Regions from separate parts of the Homo sapiens genome. Here region 1 is linked to region 2. The links are contacts of gene promoters, found by promoter capture Hi-C in human tissues and cell types (Jung and others, 2019). All regions are on one chromosome and are shown on one strand. The core of a region is centred on a gene start or on the middle of the fragment in contact, and the rest is flanking DNA. Distances in the headings are between cores, read along the strand shown.

Region 1 (3,497 bases), core at 294-2,793, 140 kb after region 2:
CTTAAGCTTCAGTTTGAAGCAGAGATGCTTGAATGAAAACAAAACAAAAACTTGTGCCTCCAGTTTCCTGGGGCAGATTCTACCTCATATGAGGGCAGGAGCTTCATTTTACTCATGTCCCAGGTTCCTAGCACAGCACCTCACCCATGATGGGCCCTGAATAAATGTTCACTTTTCAATGAGTAAACTGGATTATGTGATGGCAAATTTTTCAGGGCAGAGAGTAGTTGTGATACTTGGAGCTGATAAAATGGGCATGGGACGGCCTGGCAATGGGAGATGGGCTAGGACGTTGCTCCCTTCTTAGGAGGCACGTTTTCCATGTCTGTAGTCCCCTCCCAGTTTCCTTTCTTTCTCACATGTTTCCCCAGGCAGGGTCGTCACTGTGGATGATCTCCTTTTACAGCTGAGCACTGAGGCTCAGAGGGATTAAATGCCTGGCTCCACTGGGAGCTGGAGGTTGGAGGAGAGGATGAGATGATCACCGAGGTTCCTTTCAGGGCTTAATTTCACTGCTTTGAGATTTCTTAGGTGATTTCTGTGCCCTCTCAGGACCAAATAACTGGAAAACAAAGAGGCAGGCATTTGGTACCAGGCAGACCAGGTTTTTTGATGTACGATTGAATTTTTTAGTTTCCATCTGGATGATTTGTATTGTGAAGGTGTAAGTTGCATTCATCCACCTTAAATGAAGCAGAGAGTTTTGTCATGGTATATTAATACTCTTAAGCAACGTAAAACATCACCCCAAAGAGAAAAATCGTCTTCTGAATCATGTGTTTGGCTGTCAGGGTGGGCCTGCAGTCACTGAATACAGGCCAGGATTCCATCTCTTGCATTGGCTGTAGAATCAGAGACTTGGGTCCATGATAAGCCATTTGTTAAAGCTCATTGAGATCCTGAAAACCAAGCCCATCTCTGCTCTGCCTTACAGAGTTCATGGCACATGAGAAAGAGAAGGAAGGATCTGCTCCTGTGACCTGGGCCAAGATTTCTAGAACCCAGCTTAAAATTTATAAGATAAGTAGAACTTGAGTCATGGTATAAAGTTCCTACAGGGCAGTTTTCTAATGAGATTTTTTCACTTCTAACAAAGATGTTCTTTAGCCTCTCCTTGAGCTCCAAATCTTATTTAAGAGAGAGAGAGAGCTAGAGCAAGCTAGAGAATGAATAAAATACAAAGCAAAACAGACAAACAAACAAAAAAACCCAAATAAAAAGAACTATGTAGCAAACACCAGCATGTTGGAATCTAAACCTGCAGAAAGTTTCTTGTTTTGAAAATGAACTTCTTCATGCATTTGTTTTTATTGTATAAGAGCCCTTCCTGTTTCTACTTTAAATTCCTCTCTCAATTCCGTATGGCTTTGCATGTCTATGACTAGGTCATCTTTTTCCTTCCTTCACTCAAATCCAGCTCTGCAAGAAAAACTTGGAATGGTGAGCTTAGTGTTGGTGTGCCCTTCCCCATTTTGTGGGGGCTCTTCCCTCAAGTGAACATTCTGCCATGGCAGGTTGGGGTCATCCAGTCTTAAAAGGCACCTGATACTGTGGCTTCTGGCCTTTCCTTTGGAAGATAGTTCTGCCATGTAATGAGTCAAGCAGATCGTCCATCAGCTCTGTTTTTTAATACAATATGCATGGCACAGTTTATGGCTTCCACTATTCAAACAGCAGTTGAGCCGAAGAGGAATGATTCATTTTAATGGTTCTAACGCTCATTTCCAAGCAGCCATGTCGCTTTATCAAGCTTTTGCCTGAATTAGAAAATGACTGGCCTTGGAAAAATAAGAGGGCTCAGCAGGAGTTGAATAGAGGCTTTTCAGGATGGTGGGCAGCTGGGATGCACATAGAATTGTGGGCTGGTTCCTTGTCCCTGCAGACAGCTCCTCTGTTAGCCCTGGGGACAGAGCCTCCTAGGGAGCAAGGTGGGGGCTGGTATCTGTGAGGTGTAGCATGAGTTTGCCCAGAGAGAAACGTGCCCTGTTTTATCTCAAAGACACACAGGCTCATAGGAAAGCAGTGGATGAAAATCTCCCTTTCCCTCTTCCTGCAGCCATAGAAGCATCCTCCCCATAAAACACATGTAAAACATGTGGGACAGGCTGGGGATTGAAAATATATACTCTGTAAGAAGCTTAGTGATATGCCTAGCACACAATCATTAGACTGTTAGCTCCATTTTACAGATAAAGAAACTGAGGCTGAGATTTTCGTAATGTTGCACTGCTAATAAGGAATAAAGCCCAGATTCATGCCAACATCTTTTGATTCTAAATCCCATGTGATTTCCATAGCCTCTTTTGCCACTCAGGGACACTGAACTAGGGCCCTGCTGGTGGCAGTGTCTAGACCCAAAGGAACAGTTGATACTGGGACCACGGCATTCCAGGGTAGGGCTGGGAGCAAGTGCTCAGGTGGGTCAGTCTGAGGCCCTCAGCTCATGCTGTGAGGTGACTGTCTACAGGCAGAGCAGACCCCAAAGCCTTCAAAACACTGAGCACCCCTGCCCACATCCCTCCATCCTCCTTTGCTTCACTTGAATGAGTTCATGATTTTTGAGCTGGCCTAGACTACAAGATCAGTGCCACAGTCAACATGCCAAGGCCCAGAGAACCTCCCTTTTATGATAAGCTACAGTTTTGCTTAAGGAGCTACAACGTCTGAGCTGTTACCTAGGAGATACATTAGTAGACAGTCAGATGAAGTGGAAAGCACGTGAAGATTTTTTTTGTTTTATTTTTCAAATTGTTGATGGCATTCACGGAGGTGCTAATATCTTTTTTTTTTTTTTTTTTTTTACTGTTCCATTGCTACAAACATCTTTGCCCAGTTAAAGATTTCAGCAAAAGGGTTTCTTAATTAAATATTGCCTGATGCCAGATTACTGCTCAGAAGGCAGTGGTGGATTCCATTAAAGGCTGAACTTTACTCCCACAGCTAACAGCTGATGAATGTGTTAATTAGGAACCCTGTCCCCCTCCCTCAGTTGCCTGAGTTTTTTCTTAAGCCCAGAAGAACCTGTATATCGTGCCCATGTGGGTAACCTCATGGCATACTTTGGCCTTGACTTTGACGTTTATATAAAAATAAAGGCTCAGTTGCCAACATGAATAGCTTTCTCTCTTTCTGGGGAAATACAAGATGGAAAGAGTTATAAGAACCACAAGTCGTGCCTTTCGGCTTTCTTATATCAGGAGCAAGTGATATATGTGCTGAGGCAGTGTCTTTGGAGCAGTTGAGCGGTGTAGGTTGCCACACATTTATTTCACAGGAAAGGAGTGAATCCATCAGGCCACTGAGCTTATAAGTACTACTCTGGCAGTCAGCCACCCAAATATAAATACTCTAAATGGACTAAAGGAAATGTTCATTCTGTTGTTTAGAGTTGGACCCATCCCAGGAAGGTAAATTTAATCTTTTTGAGGACTGCTGTTATAGGGTTGAATGGAATACGCATTTGTTTATCTCCTTTGTGATCTTTTTGTCTTCCTGGT
Region 2 (3,547 bases), core at 464-2,963:
ACGGGGAGCAGGGTGCAGCTTCCCCTCGCCTCCCCGGGACGGGGAAGAGAAGAAATCAGGAGGGAGGAGGTACTCAGCCCTCCTGGGTGCACTCCCAGATGTTTTTAAGTTGGCGTTTATTAAAAACAAAATGATGCTAAAATGCAAAATAGGCAACGTGGAGGTACTCAGCTCTCCTGCGTACACGCCCATGTATCTCTAATGTGACATTTAAGAAACAAAACAATGCTAAAATGCAAATTAGGCGATGTAATACCCAGAATGAGCCTCGTTTGACAGGCCAAACTGAGATTTAATGGAAAGCTTACTCATATCCCCACACGGAATTCATTCTTTTAGGAACTTAAAAAAATTGTGTAATTTTAAGTTCCACCACTGTCATAACGAACACTCCACAGTAACATGCAGTGGAACAATGGACACCCCCATATCGCATTGTGTCAGGTAATTATGAAGTGTCGAGGCGCGGGAAGGAGAAGCCGGGAACGTCAATGTGTCCTCTGCAACGTGTGGGAGCGCTCAGAGCCGCGCGTATCACAGAAACATCATCCAGTCGTCACCCCCAATGCCTCAACCCAGGGACAGGGACAGACTCAATCAGACCTCGGCCCCAGGCGTGGCAGGAGAGGGCCAAAGAGGGGACTTGTGAGCGCAGAGGGAGCGAGCACCGCTCCATGGAGGGCAGGCGCTAGCTGGGAAGTCGGGAGGAGAAAGTGCAACCAGGCGGGGAGGGGAGGATCCCACCGGGGCGTGGCGAGGGCGTTCGGGGTCCGGGTGAGCGGGACCCTACGCGGGACCGTGCGCTCCCAGAAGCTCCCACTCAGCCCAACCTTTTGGGCGAAACCCAGGACACCCAGATAAGGGTGCAGGCGGGGTCACGCGTAAAGCTGTTACTTTGAAGCAGGGCATAAGTGAGAGAGAGATAAAGAGAGAAGGAACAAGGGGAAAAAGAAATGAAGGGGCTGAAGGCCGAGATGTCCTACTTCTAAGTAGTTCTTTGAGAGGCAAAAGCTTCATTGCCATTGCAGTCCGAGGCAGCGCCGCGTGGAGGACCGGCCGGGCGGGGCGCGGGGACCTCTCCAAGGGGTCTCCAGCCTCCGCGCACTCTGCGGTGGCCCCCGGAGGGGGAAACTATTCTGGCAGCTCAGTGGGGGGAAGCTCGTCCGGGCTGTGGTTTCCTTTCCCCGAGACCCCAGCGTTGCACCCCCGAGGCGGCAGGCTCAGTCAACCCTCCCCGGGGGACGGCGGCCCTCTAGCCAGGCGACCTCAGGTCTCGCGACCTCCCGCCGCCCAACCTTCTCCTTTCACCCCCATTCATTTTTCCTCAGCGGCTCCTAGGACGGGCTCAAAAACCAACTCCACACGCAACCCAGCCCACCTCGCGGAGCTGAGAAGCAGGGCTGGGTTCCGAGCGGGCGCCGGCGCCCCTGGCGTGTGGCGGGGAGGTGGCGGCCGCGGGGGGCGCCGCGAGCCGCCCGTGCCCGCCGCGGATGAACAGGCGGCTGCGAGCAGCCCCCGGAGCCGCGCAGCATCCGCGTATCCAGTGACGGTGGAAGCCACGCCCGCTCGAGAGCCGGGGGGCTGTCCTCGCCCCCCCCACCTTTCCCCTCCCTCCGACCCCCTCCCGGCCGCGCTCCCTCCCCTCCTCCCGCGCCGGCCCCCGGCCCGCCCCCGGCTCGGCTCGCGGGAGGCGCTGGGCGCCGGGGCTGGCGCGCTCTCCCGGGCTCACACACAGCCGCGCACGCACGCCCGGGGCCGCTCTCCGCGCCGGCCCTTGCTCCCCGCGCCCATGCGGACGGACCGAGCGACGGAAGATGGCTGACGACTCCACGGGGCCCCGAGGATGCGGCCCGGCGGCGGCGGCGGCGGGAGCGGCAGCGGCAGCGAGGGCGGCAGGGGCAGCGGCAGCAGCGGCGGCGTTGGCTGCGGCGGCGGCGGCGGCGGCAGCAGGAGCCGGAGCGACGGCGGCGGCATCCCCGAGACTCTCCGCACTATCCTTACCCGTGACAGCCACTGACGTCCTCCGCCGCTAGAAGAGACCCCGCTTCTCGGCGCCTGCCCTCCCCCTCGCGGCTCGGTCCGGCCCCGCCAGCACCGCTACCTCCGCCAGCCTCGCCACCATCAGCACCACCTCCACCGCCGCCGCCGCCGCCACCACCACCGCCGGCGGCGGCAGCAGCCATTTCATCTCCACAGAAACCAGACACAAAAACATGGCAGAAATGGAGAAAGAAGGGAGACCTCCCGAAAATAAACGGAGCAGGAAGCCGGCTCACCCAGTGAAAAGGGAGATCAATGAGGAGATGAAGGTATTTTTTGATCTCGGGGGCCAGGGAGACTGAGCTCTTTCTTGCGCCCGCTCCCCGTGGGCCGTGGTATGGATCTGGGGGGTACCGGGGCGCGCTTGTCAGTTTCTGTAGGATGCCCAGAACGGCTCCGCTCCTCCTCCAGGTGTAAAGCAGAGGCCAACTCGAGGGCTGCATCCCCGAAATTGTTGCCAACCTCAGATTTGATGAGGGGGGACCACATACTATTTAACCTTACGAATCCCAGGTTGGCACGGACGCGTTTCAGGGCGAGGGCACCGGGGACTCGAGCGGCGTTGGGCAGGGGAAGAGGCTTTCCCAGTGGACGGTGCAGTTTCTCCCCCCTTTTTGAGAATCATCCTCAGGGTCCCTCCAAAGTTAGGAGCCTCCTGGCCGGGGCACCCCGGAGAGAGCTCTATTCCACCCCTCTCCCCCAGCTCACCCTCCTGCTCCTCAATCCCGCTTCCCCCCAACCAACCAGCTGCGACGGCGTGAAGAGCCCGTCAGTGCCCGGCGAGCTGCGGCCCGAGAGGCGCGGGTCTGGGCACGGTCCTGACCGCTCTCCTCGCCCGCCCCCGCCCGCACCTCACCACTGGCAGCCTCCGCCTCCCGCTCGCCTCTGCCTGCCTCACTTCCCAGCCAAGCAGACCCCGGCCAGCCCCGCTGGAGGACAGCTGTCTGAGGGGCGGCCTTTGCAGGGCGCCTGTCCATTGTTCGCTAAGGCCGGCCCGGAGTCCTCTCGGCGAGGCTGGGCTCCCCGCCAGGCCAGCGGTGCACCAGAGGTGGAGAGCGCAGCAGCCTGGCGCTCCAGCTGTTCGCGTTAGAGCAATTGCACAAGAGCACCGCTCAGCTCTGGACCCCCTCGTTGCCCCCCACCTCCTTATTTTCCATGAAGTTGCGGCTTTTGCCTGGGCGAGGGTTTTATTCTGTGTTGATTTCACGAGTCTCTATTGATATAAAACAATTTATTTATTTTTCTGCGAGCCATCAAAAAGTAGCAGGTTTGCATTTTGCGGTCTTCTTGGTGTTCCCCATCTTCTGCATGAAATCCTTAATACTACCAGGTGGCTTAATACTACTACTTGGCCAGTTTTGGTTCAGTTTGTATTTAAAAAACAAACTGGATGAAAATGGTGTGCAAGTAAGTCAAATTTATTGCGCTTTGACGCTTTCTTCATTAGAACAAGCATTTTCTATCATAGCTCACGCTTAGCAGGGGACGCATGGATATATATCATATA

The links. Contacts are between HindIII fragments. The study calls those that stand out against the background at their distance.
Region 1: a fragment that was not itself captured here is called in contact with the fragment with the promoter of SOBP in region 2 in 1 of the 25 tissues and cell types used here (dorsolateral prefrontal cortex).

The regions. Positions count from the first base shown.
Region 1 is chr6:107,626,452-107,629,948 of GRCh38, forward strand. The region is part of intron 5 of SOBP (sine oculis binding protein homolog); the gene reads left to right. Among named protein-coding and RNA genes, the nearest start is that of SOBP, 140 kb to the left of the region's middle. The HindIII fragment of the contact is 3,928 bases long and covers 1-3,497 here.
Region 2 is chr6:107,488,404-107,491,950 of GRCh38, forward strand. SOBP (sine oculis binding protein homolog) reads left to right here and starts at 1,714. Exons shown (of 7, transcript NM_018013.4): 1 at 1,714-2,309. The coding sequence starts at 2,214. RefSeq lists silencers at 1,944-1,993, 2,034-2,093. The HindIII fragment of the contact is 10,430 bases long and covers 658-3,547 here.